Linked DNA regions of Homo sapiens: region 1 is linked to region 2. Evidence: promoter capture Hi-C in human tissues and cell types (Jung and others, 2019). All regions are on one chromosome and are shown on one strand. The core of a region is centred on a gene start or on the middle of the fragment in contact, and the rest is flanking DNA. Distances in the headings are between cores, read along the strand shown. Region 1 overlaps BRCA1 (BRCA1 DNA repair associated). Region 2 holds the start of BRCA1 (BRCA1 DNA repair associated).

Region 1 (3,609 bases), core at 183-2,682, 39 kb after region 2:
CCGGGTTCATGCGATTCTCCTGCCTCAGCCTCCCGAGTAGCTGGGATTACAGGCATGTGCCACCATGCCCAGCTAACTTTGTATTTTTAGTAGAGACAGGGTTTCTCCATGTTGACCAGGCTGGTCTCAAACTCCTGGCCTCAAGTGATCCACCCACCTCGGCCTCCCAAAGTGCTGGGGTTACAGGCGTGAGCCACCGCACTCAGCCTGGGTCGTTAAAATTCTTAAGTGACTTCATTTTTAATTACTATATGGGATTCTATCTTTCCAGTGTATCATGATTTATTTGACCTATTGCTGAATGTTGGAGGTTTCAGGGTAAGAGGCACAGTTTGCTATTATGTACATCACTATAGTGGCATCCTGATAGCTAAATATTTGCCTACATCCCTGATTATTTCCTTAGTCTAAATTACTGGGACTAGGATTTTGGTGTTTGATACATGTTACTAAATTGTTTTTTAGAAAGATTAAACCAGTTTATGCTCTTCCAGCCCCTGTGGTATATGATAGTTCCCATTTTCCTGTACCTTGCCAACACTGGGTGATATCCAGTTTTAAAATCTAAATCTTGCATTGCTATGAGAACTACAATTAGAGAAGGCTTATCTTCTACTGCCCATTCTCTGTACAGAGCAAATCCCTCTAGACCTGAAGCCCCTTGGAGTTGTCAAGAAACCTTTGAGATGACTCCCCACTCTGTATCTGAGCTGTCACCAGTATTCTCCACTTCTTCAGGATTGCCATGGCAACTAAATTGATGAAAAGATTTAGGAGGCCTTTTCTCTCTTTGCAATTCCTATGATCCTTTTTGAATGTGGGTTTGGGACTCTGTCAATATACCCATCATCTAATTCTGTCCATTGTGTTTTAAAGTTTAAGGTTGCAATTTCTGATTACATCTGCCTTAGCCATACTGTATTATATTTGACATTCAATATACAATGTCCTTGTTTTTCTGTATTTCTAATCTTATTCCCAGAGATGTGTCTATTTGTTCAGGATTCATTTTGCAACGTGTTTTTACTAAGCATCTACCCAAAACCGTTGAAGTCAGATTTCAGGCTGTCTTACGTCTAAAGTAGCACAGGCAGGAAAAACTATTGAAGTGGGATTTTTTTTTCCCTTTTTGTACTGAACCGAGAAAAAGTATATAGATGATAGAGAATTCCTAATTTGGTATCATTGATATCTGGGTTTTTGTTTGTTTTTACAGAAGACTGATTAACTATACTTATTTATTAATTTATCTTCTCATTAATAAACACTTGCTGAGTGCTTACTGTCTGCTAGGCATTAGGGAGACAAATATGATTAAGGGAAGCTTCCTCCTATCAAGGTCATGTGTTCCATTTGGGTATACTAATGCATTAGCAATGTAAATCAAGTAGTGAGAGATCATCTGTTCCCGATAGGAGATGGATTATTGGTGGGGACTTCTGTGTGTGTGTGTGTGTGTGTGTGTGTGTGTGTGTGTGTATGTATGTGATAAAATAAATATAGGAAATGTTAATTATAGATTCTAAGTAGTAGATATATAAACACTCATTGCAAAGTTGCTTCAAGTTTTCTGTATATTTGAAAATATTCACAACATGTCGACAAAACTAGCATGATAAAGCCACTATTTGTGCTAAGACTTCAGCTTGTATCTGGATTAGGCTTATTATGTAGTAGTAGGAACATTAGAAATAGTTTTAACTCATTAAATACACATGTTTTATGGGAAGGTTTTATATATATATTTATATGTAATGAATGTGAACAAACAAGGGTCAGATATACACTCTGCTTCCCTCCAGACCAGTTCCGGCTGCTCTGCTGCACATTTCAGGAGTCTTATTAGAATTAGCCACATTCTGCCCACTTGCCCTTACTTCTCATATTTCACAACTCCTCCTGGTGGGGACTTAAGGAGACATTCAAACTAGGCCTTGAAAGATGAGAATTTTTCCAAGTGGAAAAAGAGGAGTGGCAGCAAGTAAGGTAAAGGTACAGAGTCATGGAATTCCCAGGAAACGTAAAGTTGTCATGTGTTATAGGAAAACAACTTGTGTGAGGGGTGTTGGGAGAAATGAGAGATAATACCAGGGTATAAAGGGCCTTTTGAATGCTATGTTGAGGAATTTTATCCTAATGGCAGTAATGACTAACAATTATATAGTGTTCAAAAAGTATAAATCAGCAGTGGTATACCACTAAGGGTTTTTTTCTTTTCTTTTTTTTTTTGAGACAGAGTTTTGCTCTGTTGCCCAGGCTGGAGTGCCGTGGCACGATCTCAGCTCACTGCACTTCCGCCACCTGGGTTCAAGTGATTCTTCTGCCTCAGCCAGTGTTTCACTGTGATGGCCAGGATGGAGCACTAAGGGTCTTTATGGAAGAAAAAGACATGATAAACAAGGCTTTTAGGGAACTTCTACAGTAATGTAGCTGTATTAAAAGTAGAGATCAGAGCAGCATAGTAGAAGTAGAAGGCTAGAGCTAATTGAAGGAGCACTTCAGAATTAGAATCAAGAAGTCTTAGAAACCTATTGGTTTTATTCTCCCTAATGTATTTGGCCACTTACCTGCTGGGGAATTTGTCTAAGTTATAAAAAATAATTCCTTTGGGAAACCCAAAGGAAAGTTATCTATTAATAATTACCCCACTACTTTTTCTGATTTATGTAATGGCCACGTAGAGGTTAGATGTGATGGTTGTGACAGTAGTGACTAATACAGCCTGTGAAGCATTTTGGTCAGATATCTATGTGCTTTCATTCCAGGTTGACTGAGGCAAGACTTTGGCTAGGGTTTGATCAGTGATGTAACTACTCACGAGTACCACGTGGTGGCAATGGCATTGCTGCAGACCTTGGCAGCAAAGCAGTGTTAGAGTAGCAGTAGAAACCTTTGTGAAGCTAGGAATACATTTTCTGGTCATAAAAACCTCCTGAAAATTGTGAACTCAGTGTAGCAGGAGAAAGAAGATGGCTTGTTTTTAGTAAAGGGCAAAGTCATTTTTAAGGATCAGAAGAAGAAACGGAGAGTGAAACAATGTGTTCCTGCCCTACTCCCCCACTGGACTTTTTGGCAACCATTGCTGTTCCTTCTAAAAGTGATTTTTAAACATGTATATTTTGAAGCCAGGCACAGTGACTCACGTCTGTAATCCCAGCACTTTGGGAGGCCGAGGCGGGCAGATCACCTGAGGTCAGGAGTTCAAGACCAGCCTGGCCAACATGGTGAAACCCCGTCTCTACTAAAAATACAAAAATTAGGCCAGGTGTGGTGGCTCACGCCTGTAATCCCAGCACTTTGGGAGGCCGAGGCGGGAGGATCATGTGGTCAGGAGATCCAGACCATCCTGGCTAACACGGTGAAACACCATTTCTACTAAAAATACAAAAAATTAGCTGGGCATGGTGGCGGGCGCCTGTAATCCCAGCTACTCAGGAGGCTGAAGCAGAAGAATGGCTTGAACCTGGGAGGCGGAGCTTGCAGTGAACCAAGATTGCGCCACTGCACTCCAGCCTGGGCAACAAAGTGAGACTCCGTCTCAAAAAAAAAAAAAAAAATTAGTCGGGCATGGTAACAGGTGCCTGTAATCCCAGCTACTTGAGAGGCTGA
Region 2 (3,869 bases), core at 1,370-3,869:
GTGCAATCTGGGCTCACTGCAAGCTCCGCCTCCCGGGTTCACGCCATTCTCCTGCCTCAACCTCCCCAGTAGAGGGGATTACAGGCACCCACCACCGCACCCAGCTAATATTTTGTCTTTTTAGTAGAGTCGGGGTTTCACTGTGTTAGCCAGGATGGTCTCGATCTCTTGACCTCGTGATCCACCCCTCTAGGCCTCCCAAATTGCTGGGATTACAGGTGTGAGCCACTGGCACCCAGCGGGGCAGCCTGCTTTTATTCCCTTATCTGACCCCACCCACATCCTGTTGATTGGTCCATTTTACAGAGAGCTAATTGGTCCGTTTTGACAGGGTGCTGATTGGTGCATTTACAATCCCTGAGCTAGATATACACAGAGTGCTGATTGGTGCATTTACAATCCTCTAGCTAGACATAAAAATTCTCCAAGTCCCCACTACATTTGCTAGACACAGAGCACTGATTGGTGCGTTTACAAACCTTTAGCTAGACACAGAGTGCTGATTGGTGCATTTGCAAACCTTGAGCTAGACACAGAGCACTGATTGGTGCATTTACAATCCTTTAGCTAGACACAGAAGTTCTCCAAGTGCCCACCAGATTAGCTAGATACAGAGTGCTGATTGGTGCATCCCCAAACCCCAAGCTAGACACAGAGTGCTGACTGGTGCATATAAAATCCTCAGGCTAGACATAAAAGTTTTCCAAGTCCCCATCTGACTCAGGAGCCCAGCTGGCTTCACCTAGTGGATCCTGCGCAGGGCTGTGCCGGGCGCCTGCACTCCTCTCAGCCCTTGGGCAGTCGATGGGACCGGGCGCTGAGGAGCAGGGGGCGGTGCCCGTCGGGGAGGCTCAGGCCACGCTGGAGCTCACAGGGGTTGGGAGGGGGCTCGGGCATGGCGGGCTGCAGGTCCTGAGCCTTGCCCTGTGCAGGGCGGCTGGGGCCCGGTGAGAATTCAAGCGGGGTGCAGGCGGGCCGGCAGTGCTGGGGGACCCGGCGCACCCTCTGCAGCTGCTGGCCCGGGTGCTAGGCCCCTGACTGCCCGGGGCCGGGGGTGCGGGGCCCGCTGAGCCCGCGCCCACCTGGAACTCGCGCTGGCTGGCGAGCGCTGCGCGCAGCCCCAGTTCCCACACCCGCCTCTCCCTCCACACTTCCCCGCAAGCAGAGGGAGCCGGCTCTGGCTTCGGCCAGCCCAGAGAGGGGCCCCCACAGCGCAGTGGCGGGCTGAAGGGCTCCTCCAGCACGGCCAGAATGGACGCCAAGGCCGAGGAGGCGCCGAGAGCGAGCGAGGGCTGCTAGCACGTTGTCACCTCGCATTCTGAACCACAGACTCTCCAACTCTCCGGCGCTTTTCGCCCACTCGGTCCCTCAGAACACGAAGGGCTCTCTCATCCTGTCACTAAAACGATTAGCTGTCCGGAGACACGGAAAAAGTCGCCCCTCTTCTTTGCAGGATTCCTCCCTTGAACTTCTCCAAACCCTCTTAGTGTGACGTGACCCCACCCCTAGCTAACCCAGGCTGCTTCCTTACCAGCTTCCCGCCCCCTGGGGAGGCGGCAATGCAAAGACCGTCCGCTGCCAGCTCTGCCGCTATCTCTGTGGGGTGAATCTAACATGGCGGACAAAGACAGTAACTAGTCCCGTTTCTCCGCGTTTTCGCCAAGAAGATTGGCTCTTACCACTTGTCCCTCAAAACGACCACCCCATTGACTGGTGGCGATTGCGTCGACGGAGACGGGGCAAAAGCAAGCTGAACCCGAAAAATAACAAACACTGGGGCTGAGGGGTGGAACTACGAGTGCGCAGACATGGGCCAGAGCGCATTTCCCCTGCCCCAGGCAAATTCGGCGCTCACTGCGTCCCCGCAGGCCACTGACCTTACAAGACTACTTGCCCCAGACTCCTGGGGCTGGATGGGAATTGTAGTCTCCCTAAAGAGTTGTACGTATCTTTTTAAGGCCTAGTTTCTGCTTTCAAAATACGAAAACATAACACTCCAGTCCATAACTGTTGACAAGTACAAGCGCGCACAGGTCTCCAATCTATCCACTGGATTTCCGTGAGAATTGTGCCCGCTCTGGTATTGGATGTTCCTCTCCATAAGACTACAGTTTCTAAGGAACACTGTGGCGAAGACCTTTCATTCCGCAACGCATGCTGGAAATAATTATTTCCCTCCACCCCCCCAACAATCCTTATTACTTATATTTACCGAAACTGGAGACCTCCATTAGGGCGGAAAGAGTGGGGGATTGGGACCTCTTCTTACGACTGCTTTGGACAATAGGTAGCGATTCTGACCTTCGTACAGCAATTACTGTGATGCAATAAGCCGCAACTGGAAGAGTAGAGGCTAGAGGGCAGGCACTTTATGGCAAACTCAGGTAGAATTCTTCCTCTTCCGTCTCTTTCCTTTTACGTCATCCGGGGGCAGACTGGGTGGCCAATCCAGAGCCCCGAGAGACGCTTGGCTCTTTCTGTCCCTCCCATCCTCTGATTGTACCTTGATTTCGTATTCTGAGAGGCTGCTGCTTAGCGGTAGCCCCTTGGTTTCCGTGGCAACGGAAAAGCGCGGGAATTACAGATAAATTAAAACTGCGACTGCGCGGCGTGAGCTCGCTGAGACTTCCTGGACGGGGGACAGGCTGTGGGGTTTCTCAGATAACTGGGCCCCTGCGCTCAGGAGGCCTTCACCCTCTGCTCTGGGTAAAGGTAGTAGAGTCCCGGGAAAGGGACAGGGGGCCCAAGTGATGCTCTGGGGTACTGGCGTGGGAGAGTGGATTTCCGAAGCTGACAGATGGGTATTCTTTGACGGGGGGTAGGGGCGGAACCTGAGAGGCGTAAGGCGTTGTGAACCCTGGGGAGGGGGGCAGTTTGTAGGTCGCGAGGGAAGCGCTGAGGATCAGGAAGGGGGCACTGAGTGTCCGTGGGGGAATCCTCGTGATAGGAACTGGAATATGCCTTGAGGGGGACACTATGTCTTTAAAAACGTCGGCTGGTCATGAGGTCAGGAGTTCCAGACCAGCCTGACCAACGTGGTGAAACTCCGTCTCTACTAAAAATACAAAAATTAGCCGGGCGTGGTGCCGCTCCAGCTACTCAGGAGGCTGAGGCAGGAGAATCGCTAGAACCCGGGAGGCGGAGGTTGCAGTGAGCCGAGATCGCGCCATTGCACTCCAGCCTGGGCGACAGAGCGAGACTGTCTCAAAACAAAACAAAACAAAACAAAACAAAAAACACCGGCTGGTATGTATGAGAGGATGGGACCTTGTGGAAGAAGAGGTGCCAGGAATATGTCTGGGAAGGGGAGGAGACAGGATTTTGTGGGAGGGAGAACTTAAGAACTGGATCCATTTGCGCCATTGAGAAAGCGCAAGAGGGAAGTAGAGGAGCGTCAGTAGTAACAGATGCTGCCGGCAGGGATGTGCTTGAGGAGGATCCAGAGATGAGAGCAGGTCACTGGGAAAGGTTAGGGGCGGGGAGGCCTTGATTGGTGTTGGTTTGGTCGTTGTTGATTTTGGTTTTATGCAAGAAAAAGAAAACAACCAGAAACATTGGAGAAAGCTAAGGCTACCACCACCTACCCGGTCAGTCACTCCTCTGTAGCTTTCTCTTTCTTGGAGAAAGGAAAAGACCCAAGGGGTTGGCAGCAATATGTGAAAAAATTCAGAATTTATGTTGTCTAATTACAAAAAGCAACTTCTAGAATCTTTAAAAATAAAGGACGTTGTCATTAGTTCTTTGGTTTGTATTATTCTAAAACCTTCCAAATCTTAAATTTACTTTATTTTAAAATGATAAAATGAAGTTGTCATTTTATAAACCTTTTAAAAAGATATATATATATGTTTTTCTAATGTGTTAAAGTT

The links. The method cuts DNA at HindIII sites, captures the fragments that hold promoters and counts their contacts. A contact is called where the count stands out against the background at its distance.
Region 1: a contact is called between a fragment that was not itself captured here and the fragment with the promoter of BRCA1 in region 2, in 1 of the 25 tissues and cell types used here (aorta).

The regions. Positions count from the first base shown.
Region 1 is chr17:43,083,980-43,087,588 of GRCh38, reverse strand. All of the region lies in intron 11 of BRCA1 (BRCA1 DNA repair associated), which reads left to right. Among named protein-coding and RNA genes, the nearest start is that of BRCA1, 40 kb to the left of the region's middle. The HindIII fragment of the contact is 3,426 bases long and covers 1-3,145 here.
Region 2 is chr17:43,124,114-43,127,982 of GRCh38, reverse strand. It overlaps BRCA1 (BRCA1 DNA repair associated), which reads left to right and starts at 2,619. Exons shown (of 23, transcript NM_007294.4): 1 at 2,619-2,712; 2 at 3,868-3,869. NBR2 (neighbor of BRCA1 lncRNA 2) reads right to left here and starts at 2,426. Exons shown (of 8, transcript NR_138145.1): 1 at 2,213-2,426. RefSeq lists enhancers at 427-1,240, 2,169-2,258, 2,388-2,412, 2,309-2,438, 2,545-2,567, silencers at 1,247-1,264, 3,288-3,323, cis regulatory regions at 1,289-1,318, 1,669-1,698, 2,375-2,383, 2,545-2,567 and promoters at 2,368-2,634, 878-2,634. The HindIII fragment of the contact is 12,987 bases long and covers 1-3,869 here.